Regions from separate parts of the Homo sapiens genome. Here region 1 is linked to region 2. The links are contacts of gene promoters, found by promoter capture Hi-C in blood cells and fetal thymus (Javierre and others, 2016). All regions are on one chromosome and are shown on one strand. Each heading gives the region's core, a stretch centred on a gene start or on the middle of the fragment in contact. The rest is flanking DNA. Distances are from core to core; before and after follow the strand shown. Region 1 holds the start of BCKDK (branched chain keto acid dehydrogenase kinase). Region 2 holds the start of STX1B (syntaxin 1B).

Region 1 (6,544 bases), core at 392-2,891, 98 kb before region 2:
AGAACAGCCACCCCCACCTACCCATGGGGATCACCACCCAGCTGGTCGACCACGTGATCAAACCCCCACTTCGACCCTTCCAGGCTCCGTGAATACACACCTTTGGCTTCTGAAGGCCTGGGGTTGAATCCTGTGTGGCCCTGACACCTTTAGGCAAGCAATCGTCTGCCACTCTGGGCCCCAGACTCCCCACTTGCCCCCGGGGCAGGGTGGCCCGCTGACCTAAGGTCCTCTCTACCTTACCACGTGCAGTATGGTGGGGTTGCAGCCAATGATGAAAGGAAGGCAGCGGAAGCCCTTGATGCGGTGAGCAATCCTCACTGGAAGTTCTTGCTGCAGGTACCGAGCACTTTTCTGGGAGAAAATGAGAAGGGAAGGCGGGGCTGGAGCCTGAGTGTCTGGGAGAGCTCCAGGATCCACGAGGAAAATAGAGGGCGTGAATCTTACCAGAAGGTGGCTGCCGTCCTGAGAGCGGCCAGCGTAGAGCATCATGGTGGGCGTTAGGCGGACTGAGGGCTAGAGAGGGAGAGAGGCCTTGAGCAGAGAACCCCCAACACTCTCCCTCCCGCCTACATCCCGGACCCTGGGCTGGCTGCCCCCTTGCGCACCTTCTCCGCTGCCGCGTCGATGGCCGACTGGTTGTAAAAGGAGGTGACGGTCTTGGAGCGCTCCCGAGCCATCTCCACGTGGTGTGTGTCGGTGGCCGACGTCGAGCGGGCCCGGAGCGCGAGTGCGGGTCCCAGGAGGGGCCGGAGCGGAAGCCCGCCCCCGGGACCGCTCCTCAGCACCGACGCCAGGATCATCGTCTTGCTCCTTTCAGACCCGGTGGCCGCTAGGACTGAGGATCCGCTAGGACTGAGGACCCAGGCGACCCAAAATGGGGCAAGGGGGTGTGGGTGGGTAGGGGCTCTTCTCCGACTTCAGGGACCAGGGTGCGTCGAGGATGCTGACAGGCTCAGCCCGCGGAGAGCAGCTCCCATCTACCGGGGCGGGGAAGAGGAAGTTGTAAGGATCCGAATCCACAGAACCCGCACCATCTCTCCACCTGTGCATCGGTCTCCCCAGACCCGGGCGACCTCTCCCCACCACTCCCACCGTCTCCCCAGATGCACACAGGCCGCGCCCAAAGGACCTAGCCTCCCGGGGGCTTCTATTCCCCAACCCGAGGCTCTACTGGCGGTGGGAGGGCTGTCGGGGGAGGAGCCCCTCAGACCCTTCCAGCCCGAAAACCTCGCCCCAGCGCCCCGGGGTCCCGGGTACCCTTCTCAGGGGGCGGGGCTGCCCCTGCCTGCCCAGCGCCTTCAAACCCGGGCCCTGGGAGCGCGGCCAGCGAACGTGCGACACCAGCCCTGGGCCCCTGGGGCCGGCTTGGGAGGGTGCGGCACGGAGTCCCCAGCGGGACCCCCCACGCGGGTCACTTGGTTCGGCCCGGATGCCCCCCATATGGTAGATGCCAGCCCCGTCTGCGCGCCCGCGCTGTGATGGAGGCTGCGGACGTGCGCCGCGGGGCCTCCGCGGACTGAGTAGGCTGGGGTCGCCCCACTTACCGCGGGGCCGGAGCCAGGGCCCGGGTCCCAGCGGAAGGGCTCGAACAGTCCACTCGCCAGGCGCCCAGCCGCCTGCGCCCTCCGCCGCCGTGACGTCGCGTGGGCGGCAGCGCCCGCTGGGTCCTGGGAGTTGTAGTTTGGTCTGAGGACGTGCCGTCCCGGGCGCCCGCGCATCCAGGCCACGCCCTTGCTCCCGGACCCCAAACAGCACCGCTTCCTCCACACGGCTCTCGAGGCTCTCCGTGTCCCTCCCAGCCTCTATCTCCTGCTCTATGAAACGGGCTCCCTGGGAGCTGGAAGATCTTAGATGTAAAGCGCACAGATCACGCCCTACCTGACTCCTTCTCGGAGCTCTTGTCCTCCTTCCAGTTCTTGGTTCATTTATGGGTAACCAGGCTTCAAACCCCAGCTCGACCCCTTAATATCTGGAGCAAGTTATTTAACTGCTCAGTGCTTGGTAAGATGAAGAGATATCATCAGTTTTGGGGTTGTGTGGATTACATGAATTTATATGAGTGCCTAGAACAGTGCCAGGCGTGGAATTAGCACTATATAAGGGTTAGGCATTATTATTATTCACTCATGCCTGCAGATAATGCAAGTCGCTGACTGGGTGTCTTTTCTGCACCAGGAGAGGAGATTGGGCAGTGAGTTGAATAGATCTTTCCGTGCCCTGCATAAGAAAACAGTTTCAGTATCATTGGCTGTGATGAGGACTTTCAGAGGAGGCTGCGGGAGCCTCAGATAGAAACTGAGACAGCTGTGTAGGTGCAGCCTGAGTAGGACTTGCAAGGGAGCGGGGTGGGAAGGGTGTGTGGCAGGACAGACAACAGCCCAGATGGTCTGAGGATATGGCTGGAGCCATATGGGATCTGGGAAGGAGAGGGGCGGCAGCAGAGAGCGAAGGATAAGTCTGCATTTGTCCTAGGGTAGTTAGGAACTACTGAAGGGTTTTAACTGGTGGGCTCTCCTCCTTAGACAGAACCCCTTGTCTGCAGTGATTTAGAGTGGGGCGTTTGGTGAGACCAAAGGCAGAGAAACCAATAAGAAGACAATTACTTTAGGCCAGGCGCAGTGGCTCAGGCCTGTAATCCCAGCACTTTGAGAGGACGAGGTGGGCGGATCTCAGGAGTTCCAGACCAGCCTGGCCAACTTGGCAAAACCCCGTCTCTACTAAAAATACAAAAATCAGCCGGGTGTTGTGGCTGGCGCCTGTAATCCCAGCTACTCGCGAGGCTGAGGCAGGAGAATCGCTCGAACCCGGGAGGAGGAGGTTGCAGTGAGCCGATATCCCGCCACTGCTCTCCATCCTGGGCAACAAGAGCAAAACTCCGTTGCAAAAAAAAAAAAAATTATCCAGGCAGGAGGCGCTGGAAGGGACACGTTTCAGTGTGTGCACGTGCATATGTGTGTAGTGTGTATTTGTACTAATTGCAATTTTCTTTACCATGGTTATATATTTCCTAAATATGTTCAATAAAAAGTGCTAAGTGAAGCAAGTGACATCTTTGGAGGCTATCTTTATTTATTTATTTGGAGATGGGGTCTCGCTCTGTTGCTCAAGCTGTAATACAGTCGCTCCATAGTAGCTCACTGCAGCCTCCGACTTAAATGATCCTCCCACCTCAGCCTCTCAAGTAGCCGAGACTGTAAGTGTGCACCACTACCCCCAGGGTGATTTTTTCCCCCTCAGGCAATCCTTTTGCCACAGCCTCCCAAAGTGCTGGGATTACAGACGTAACCCACCGTGCCTGGCCTATTTTTCTTAGAGCCGGGGTCTCGCTATGTTGCCCAGGCTGGTCTCAAATTCCTGGCCTCAGCCTCCTGAGTTGTTGGGGTTACAGGAGTGAGCCACTGGGCCTGGCGGCTGTCTTTAAACTTGGAGGTTAGCCAGGTGCAGTGGCTCATGCTTGTAATCCCAGCACTTTGGGAGGCCAAGGCGGGCAGATGACCTGAGGTCAGGAGTTCGAGACCAGCCTGGCCAATATGGTGAAACTCTGTCTTTACTAAAAATACAAAAATTAGCCGGATGTGGTGGCATGCACCTGTAATCCCTGCTACTCGGGAGGCTGAGGCAGAAGAATCGCTTGAACCCGGGAGGCGGAGGTTGCAGTGAGCCAAGATCGTGCCAATGCACTCCAGCCTGGGCGACAGAGAGAGGCTCCGTCTCAAAAATAAATAAATAAATAATAAATAATAAACTTGAAGGTGAAAAAAATAAATAATAAATAATAATAAATATAAACTTGGAGGGAGGACGCCTCACCGTGACTGGCCTGCCTGAGCAATTGGGGGCAGACCACGGGAAAGGGGCGCCCTGCATCTCTGGGTTTCCTCTTTGACCCCCACCCACACCATTCCCACCCGTTCTTTCCCAACGTCCTGGAGTACAGCCAGGCGGCGGCAGCCCCAAGGCAGCCACGGCTGGAGCCCGTGGTAAAAGGGAGCGGGAAGGGTGCTCCTGGCGGGGAGGACAGGCTGCGCAAAGCAGCAAAGGACTGGCAGTGGTCTGTGCGCCAGAATCTGGCGCTCACGTGGCCGCGGCGTGGACAGGAGCCGCAGGCGGAGGAGGCTGCGGCTGCCACCGAGGTGGAGAGGTCTGGCACAGGCCTCACCCCATTTGACCCCGCTCGCTAGGCCCCGGCTCGGCCTGGACTCGCTGCTGCCCCCGGCGGCGGAGGTTGGACATGCACCTCGCGACCCCCTTTTCAGAATACTGTATACAGGTCAGGCGGCTTTCTTTTTTTTTTTTTTTATTTTTTTATTTTTTTTTTTTTATTTTTATTTTTTATTGATCATTCTTGGGTGTTTCTCGCAGAGGGGGATTTGGCAGGGTCATAGGACAATAGTGGAGGGAAGGTCAGCAGATAAACAAGTGAACAAAGGTCTCTGGTTTTCCTAGGCAGAGGACCCTGCGGCCTTCCGCAGTGTTTGTGTCCCTGGGTACTTAAGATTAGGGAGTGGTGATGACTCTTAACGAGCATGCTGCCTTCAAGCAGGGCAGAGGGGCTCCTCACTTCCCAGTAGGGGCGGCCGGGCAGAGGCGCCCCTCACCTCCCGGACGGGGCGGCTGGCCAGGCGGGGGGCTGATCCCCCCACCTCCCTCCCGGACGGGGCGGCTGGTCGGGCGGGGGGCTGACCCCCCCCACTTCCCTCCCGGACGGGGCGGCTGGCCGGGCGGGGGGCTGACCCCCCCACCTCCCTCCCGGACGGGGCGGCTGGCCGGGCAGAGGGGCTCCTCACTTCCCAGTAGGGGCGGCCGGGCAGAGGCGCCCCTCACCTCCCGGACGGGGCGGCTGGCCAGGCGGGGGGCTGATCCCCCCACCTCCCTCCCGGACTGGGCGGCTGGCCGGGCGGGGGGCTGATCCCCCCACCTCCCTCCCGGACTGGGCGGCTGGCCGGGCGGGGGGCTGACCCCCCCACCTCCCTCCCGGACGGGGCGGCTGGCTGGGCAGAGGGGTCCTCACTTCCCAGTAGGGGCGGCGGGGCAGAGGCGCCCCTCACCTCCCGGACGGGGCGGCCGGCCGGGCGGGGGGCTGACCCCCCCACCTCCCTCCCGGACGGGGCGGCTGGCCGGGCAGAGGGGCTCCTCACTTCCCAGTAGGGGCGGCCGGGCAGAGGCACCCCTCACCTCCCGGACGGGGCGGCTGGCCGGGCGGGGGGCTGACCCCCACCACCTCCCTCCCGGACGGGGCGGCTGGCCGGGCAGGGGGCTGACCCCCCCTCCCCCCTCCCGGACGGGGCGGCTGGCCGGGCAGAGGGGCTCCTCACTTCCCAGTAGGGGCGGCCGGGCAGAGGCGCCCCTCACCTCCCGGACTGGGCGGCTGGCCGGGCGGGGGGCTGACCCCCCCACCTCCCTCCTGGACGGGGCGACTGGCCAGGCAGAGGGGCTCCTCACTTCCCAGTAGGGGCGGCCGGGCAGAGGAGCCCCTCACCTCCCGGATGGGGCGGCTGGCCGGGCGGGGGGCTGACCCCCCCCACCTCCCTCCCGGACGGGGTGGCTGCCGGGCGGAGACGCTCCTCACTTCCCAGACGGGGTGGCTGCCGGACGGAGGGGCTCCTCACTTCTCAGACGGGGCGGTTGCCAGGCAGAGGGTTTCCTCACTTCTCAGACGGGGCGGCCGGGCAGAGACGCTCCTCACCTCCCAGATAGGGTTGCGGCCAGCAGAGGCGCTCCTCACATCCCAGACAGGGCGGCGGGGCAGAGGTGCTCCCCACATCTCAGACGATGGGCGGCCGGGCAGAGACGCTCCTCACTTCCTAGATGGGAAGGCGGCGGGGAAGAGGCGCTCCTCGCTTCCTAGATGGGATGGCGGCCGGGCAGAGACGCTCCTCACTTTCCAGACTGGGCAGCCAGGCAGAGAGGCTCCTCATATCCCAGACGATGGGTGGCCAAGCAGAGACGCTCCTCACTTCCCAGACGGGGTGGCGGCTGGGCAGAGGCTGCAATCTCGGCACTTTGGGGGGCCAAGGCAGGCGGCTGGGAGGTGGAGGCTGTAGCGAGCCGAGATCACGCCACTGCACTCCAGCCTGGGCACCACAGAGCACTGAGTGAACGAGACTCCGTCCGCAATCCCGGCACCCCGGGAGGCCGAGGCTGGCGGATCACTCGCGGCTAGGAGCTGGAGACCAGCCCGGCCAACACAGCAAAACCCCGTCTCCACCAAAAAAAAAAACGAAAACCAGTGAGGCGTGGCGGCGTGCGCCTGCAATCGCAGGCACTCAGCAGGCTGAGGCAGGAGAATCAGGCAGGGAGGCTGCAGTGAGCCGAGATGGCAGCAGCACCGTCCAGCCTTGGCTCGGCATCAGAGGGAGACCGTGGAAGGAGACCGTGGAGGGAGACGGAGACGGAGACGGAGACGGAGACGGAGACGGAGACGGAGAGGGAGAGGGAGAGGGAGAGGGAGAGGGAGAGTCAGGCGGCTTTCTAAGCGCTTTCAATGTATTTTTAAAAATTTACATATACTCGATGTAAAAGAGAACTGTATGTATTTATT
Region 2 (5,719 bases), core at 673-3,172:
CATGCAAAGCCTCAGTGTCCTTGTCTATACACTTGGGATCTTAGCAGTGGCTACTGTGAGGTTGGGAGGTTTCTGGGAGCTACCAGCATAGTGAATGCAACACGTTGGATGCCCAGAACGTGCTGGCATTATAATGGCGGGGAGGCAAGGACAGCTTTCTGTGCTTTGAGTGGCTGGGTGGATGGAGATGACGCCATCTCTGAGGGAGAACACAGGAAGGAACACTTTGGGGACAGCCACCTCCTTGAGGTCCCCACGTCAGCGCTAGCCATGCCCACTGTAGTCATGGATCTACTCATGGCTCTGGTGGCATCTTCAATCTCTGTCTTCTTGGTGCCCAGCTCAGAGCTTAGGCATATAGTAGGGGCTGTCTTACAGGGGGAGGATCTGGCTCGCAGGTACAGATGTGGGCACTGCAGACACGGAGGTGCAGAAAGATGCAGGTAAAGAAGGAAGAGAATGCCAGGCATGGTGGCCCAGGCCTGTAATCTCAGCACTTTGGGAGGCTGAGGCAGGAGGATCGCTTGACCCTAGGAGTTCAAAACCAGCCTGGACAACATAGTGAGACCCTGTCTCTACAAAAAATAAAATTAGCCAGGTGTGGTGGCGCGTGCCTGTAGTCCCAGCTACTCAGGAGGCTGAGGTGGGAGGATCACTTGAGCCTGGGACGTTGAGGCTGCAGTGAGCCGAGATTGCACCACTGTACTCTAGCCTGGGCAACAGAATGAGACCCTAACTCAAAAAAAAAAAAAAAGAGAGAATGGACGGAGCCCAGGGAACCCTGAGGTTGAAGGGCTGTGGGAAAAAAGGTAAGGACCTGGAAAGAGGCTGGGAGACAACACTCACAGATCAGGTTGGGGGGTAGGTGGGCGGAGCACCACAGACAGGAGGGTTTCAGGAAGAGGGGCTCATCAGGGTCACATGCTGCTGAGAGGTCAGGGATGGTAAGGCCCGACTGGCGGTGTGGGATGAGGGTTTATCAGACACAGATTTGGCACCAAGGAGGTCACTGGGTACCTGGCAAGAGAATGCCGGGTGCGGTGGCCCAGGCATGGAATCCCAGCACTTTGGGAGGCTGAGGCAGGAGGATCGATTGAGAGTCAAGACCTGTCCCATTGGGGACCGGCGCCCCATTGCAGGGGGTGGGAGGAGCTGGTGTGGTGTAAGGATGGGGAGAGGAGAGGTGGGCATCAGAACAGGAGGTCACTCAGACCCTCAGGGGCACCTGATTTCCCCTCCCACTAAGGACAAATTTCATGTTCAACAGTCAGAGCCATCTGCAGATGGGCCAAGAGGTCCTGGGAGGTAGTGAGCACCCTGTCCCTGGAGGCAGACAAGCAGAGCTCCGAGACCCACCGCGGCGGGAGAGGCCCAGGCTGTGCAACACAAGCCCCGTGTCCTTCTCAGCAAGCACCTGGCTGGTTCCCTGCATCGTAAAAACCACACAGAGGGTCGGTCTTTCTATTTATAGTGTCCAAAGAGCCTCCTGCAAGAACACACATGGGCTCGCACCCAGAGGTGGTCGGCGCGCAGCCTCACGCAGACACCAGACACAAAACACAGCCGCGATCTGTGTCTCCTGGAAAGGGATCCACATCCTGGCTCCCAGGTTATTCCCTGAATTCATTCCGTCACCCCCTCTTTCCGCCGGGCCACCCCACCCCCCGGGCCACCCTAGCATCTCCGCTTGGCTCTCCGCATCTCTCCCTGCTCCTCGGGCTCTGCCCACCCCCACCCGCCTCCAGGCCTCTCCCGCCCCCTCCTCGGGTGTCCCCCAAGCCCGTGACTACAACCCCCAGGCGCCCCCGGCCCGGGTGCTGCGCATGCCCCCTGCTCCTTGCGCGCTCCCGCTCCCCCCGCCCTCGCTTCCTCCTCACCTCCCTCCGCCCCCCTCCCCCGCGCTCGGCTCCCGCATCCCTCCATCCTACCCTGTGCCGCAGCCGCATCGCCACCGCAGCCCGGCAGAGCCGAGCCCGGCCCAGGCCCCTGCCCCTGCCCGGCCCTCGGCCAGTCGCCCCCGGCCCCGCCCCCGCCCGCAGGCCCCCCGCAGCGGCCGCGGCGCCCCCCGGCGCCCCCAGACCCCGGCCTCCGGCACAGAGGCGGGAGACCCGGAGCAGCAGCAGAGGCAGGAGGACTAGGAGGAGGAGGAGGAGCCGTCGCAGGATGAAGGATCGGACTCAAGAGCTGCGGAGTGTGAGCTTGGGGGTGGGGAGAATGGGGGGGCGGGACCCCAATATTGGGGGAGCGCGTGGGGATGGAGTGGGGGAGGTGCTGGGACGTGGGGGCGAAGGATGAGATCGGAGGTTGGTAGCCGGAGCACCCCAGTATCTTCAGGCGCCTGATGTCTCTCCAGTGAACCTGCATTTTGGGGACAGTGCCTGGAAGGGGTTGGAGGCCATGAAGACACAAGGGGGCAGGAGAGGTCTCAGGGGCCTCGAACACCCCGCATTCCCAGGAGGGCCCCGGGGTCTGGTCTGGGGATGGGAGAGAGTGGATATCAGGAGAAACCGGAGGAGACTGTCATCCCCTGGGCAGGTTTGCCAAAGAGAAGCATGGGGGCGGTGACTGGGCCAGGCTGAGAGTCTAGCAGGACCCAGATTCAGGGGATGCTACGGGGAAGGACACAGGTTGGGACTGAGATGCCAGCACCTGGCAGTGAATGAAGTGTGTGTGTGTGTGCACACGCGTGTGTCACTCCCTATAGGGAGGGGGCATCTCTCCGAGACAGGGAGGGAAGAGGTGGCCTCCGGAGAGAGCCAGAGGGCCAGGGCCTGAGACAGGGTGACCCAGAGGTGGGAGATGGGGATGCAGAGGAGAGGGCCATGGAACACGGGCCGTGCTCTGCTTGGGGGAACTGGGGCACCCCGGGCAGTCAAGGGCTGATGCAGGCCCCAGGTCTGCAGGCCTGAAGAGGCCCGGCTCCAAGAGTCTGGCCAGGCAGTCCCTGGTTTTGGGGGGACAGGGGAAGGACTGCAGTGGAGGCTGCTACCTGGAGGAACTGGGGAGTGGGGTTCGATGAGAATGGTTTCAGGGGCAGGGAGGACGCTGGGGTATTTGGAGAAATGACCTGGGGCCCGAGGAGGCAGCACTGACAGTCCGCACTGTGCTGGGCTGGTGGTGTTATGTTAATAAGGGTACCGGCCCCGGCTGAGCTGCCCAATGCACTGAGCCTTTACAGGGAACTGGTGGGTTGTTACCCCAGGGGTTATTACCCCACTTGACAGATGAGGAAACTGAGATTCAGGCGTGGGAAGGGACTTGTCCAAGGTCACCAAGCAAGTGGGTGGGGGGCAGACTGCAATCTGGGTTTCCTGTCTGCTAGGTTGACACAGGTCTCTGCTTTTCTGGCCTTTGAAACAGAAGTTTCAGCACTGGGGGTGAAGAGCTGTCCCCTGGATTTGGGGGTGGGGACCCAGGTTACAGACAGACGAGAAGAAGGTGTTTGGAGGCAAGTGACCGCTGTCTCTGGGGACAGACAGGTTGCCAAATGGGAAGCAAGGAGGAGCTGGTGGCTGAGGGAGGGAATTTTAAAGGTTTCTTTATTACATTTTTACTGAATATACACTCAGGCATGAGGAAAGTGACAGTAATAATAAACATTGTTTGAAGTGTTTTATGCATATTCACTCATTTTGATCCTCACAGCAATCCTATGAGACTGGTTATCTCATTTCATAGATATATAAATATCTTTTTAGATATATAGATATATGTTATCTCATTTTATAGATAAGGACACTAAGCTCAGAGAGGTTAAGTAATTAGACCAAAGTCACACAGCTGGTAAAGGCAGGATTCAAACCCAGGCAGGCCGGCTTCAGCATCGGTGCTGTCAATTCCCCTCCTCAGTTTGCAGAGCAGGCTTTCATCCGTGATGTCATTAGAGCCCCACTGACCTCCTGGCAAGTGGACGGGGAGGCTCTTTCATTTTAGAGTTGGGGAAACTGAGGCCCAGAGTGGTTGAATAACTTTCCAAAGGTCACACAGCTAGCAGGTGAGGGATCCGGACTTGAACCCAGTTCCCCTGCTACCAGGACTATTCCATGACTCCAAAACCCAGGGAAATGGAAGTGGGTTGGGATCAGGTGGTGTGGAATTGGGGTACAATTCGAGAAAGAGGGAGGGAAAAGGCTAAGCGGGGTAAGGGGGAGGCAGGGGAGGGGGAGGCCTCATGAATGAGTCAGGGGCCCCTGCTCAGAGGTAAGGAATCCTGTTGGCTGTGGCTGCCGGAGGTGGTGTGGAAGGGTGAAGGGGCTGAGTGGATGTGGTGGCTTTGGTATTAGTCACAGCTCAGGGAAACTGGAGATTCAAGAGGGGGCGGGCGGGGTGGGAAAAGCTGACAGATTCAGGTAGCGTAAGGGTCTCCCTGCTACAGTTGAAAGCAAGGAGCCTGGGATGCAGGAGACACCTGGCAGGGTGTGGGGGACCTGGAAACGGGGTCTCTGAGACACTGGGAGGGATGAGGCAGGGGCGGTGGTGGGAGGGGACATTAGCCCAGGGGACTGATTGTCTTTCCAACAGTACCTTGGCATTCCCAAGGGGTTCTCAAGTCCGTTTGTCACACAGTGGTTTCGGGAGCCAGACTGTCTGGGTTCAAATTCTAATTTTGCTACTTCCTGTGAGACCTTGGGCAAGTTGCTTAACCTCTCTGGTCCTCAATTTCTTCGCGTATGAGTTGGGAGAAGTAAGAGTGCCTGTTTCACAGGGTTGTCCTGAGGACTGGAAGTAGTTAATATGCATCAGGTGCCTAGGAGGGGGCCTGGCGCCCAGCAGTGCTGTGTGTCTGTTACCCAGCAGATGGCTTGTTTATTTCTCTTCAACACCACACAAGCCCCCTGCGATGGGCAGGACATGGCCCCTATTTTATTTTGGAGTACATTGAGGGCCAGAGGGGGTAAAAAAAACCTGACTTGTCCAAGGTCAGATAGCTTTTAATGGTTGAGGTGGGCTTGAACCAGGGTTTTCTGCGTCCAGTTTACCAGGCAACCTTGGTTGGTGCTAGGCTGGTTGTGGAGGCTGTGAAAAGGAGTTAATCAGCTAAATAGGTGTCCCAGGGTCTAAGGAGTGAAGCCAGAGTGGGGCTCCAGAGGAAAGAGCAGAGTGAGTGAGGTGGAGAGGAAGGTGGGTTATGGGAGAAGACAGGAGGGGCACAGGGAGGGCTGAGGTCTGAGACGCAGCTGTGGAGTCGGGTGGGAGAAGTGCGGAGACACCCTGGGAGGAAGGTGGGGCCTGCACTGCAGGAGCCTGAATCTGAGGCTGGACAGGATGAAGGCTGCTGAGGGACCGCCCCGTGCCCCAAAGGCCCTCAGGTATGAGGCAGGCACAGTAGGTGCTTTAGAAACGCAGCCCTGAAATCACAGGGTGCAGAGACCAACGAACCCTGGGTGATGGATCCATATCCTCCAGCTGCTCTGGGCTGCCTTTATTTATATTTAAAAAAATGTTTTTAGAGACATGGTCTTCCTCTGTCACCTAGGCTGGAGTGCAGCGGTGCAATCACAGCTCACTGCAGCCTTGACCTCCTGGTCTCCAGGGATCCTCCTGCCACAGCCTCTCGAGTAGCTGGGATTACAGATGCGCACCACCATGCCTGGCTAATTCTTTTTGCTTTTGTAGAGATGGGGTCTATGTTGACCAGACTGGTCTTGAACTCCTGGCCTCAAATGATCCTCCCGCCACGCCCTCCCAAAGTGCTGGTATTCCAGGCATGAGCCACCGC

Evidence for each region. The method cuts DNA at HindIII sites, captures the fragments that hold promoters and counts their contacts. A CHiCAGO score of 5 or more calls a contact.
Region 1: a contact is called between the fragment with the promoter of BCKDK here and the fragment with the promoter of STX1B in region 2, in 2 of 17 cell types (erythroblasts and endothelial precursors). The highest score is 5.4, in erythroblasts.

What each region holds. Positions count from the first base shown.
Region 1 is chr16:31,103,483-31,110,026 of GRCh38, reverse strand. It overlaps BCKDK (branched chain keto acid dehydrogenase kinase), which reads right to left and starts at 1,641. Exons shown (of 12, transcript NM_005881.4): 1 at 1,548-1,641; 2 at 609-980; 3 at 448-516; 4 at 244-354. The coding sequence starts at 803. RefSeq lists enhancers at 131-1,023, 1,024-1,917, 3,525-4,341 and a silencer at 1,249-1,788. The HindIII fragment of the contact is 13,040 bases long and covers 1-6,544 here.
Region 2 is chr16:31,006,841-31,012,559 of GRCh38, reverse strand. It overlaps STX1B (syntaxin 1B), which reads left to right and starts at 1,922. Exons shown (of 10, transcript NM_052874.5): 1 at 1,922-2,193. The coding sequence starts at 2,164. RefSeq lists an enhancer at 1,385-1,886. The HindIII fragment of the contact is 27,284 bases long and covers 1-5,719 here.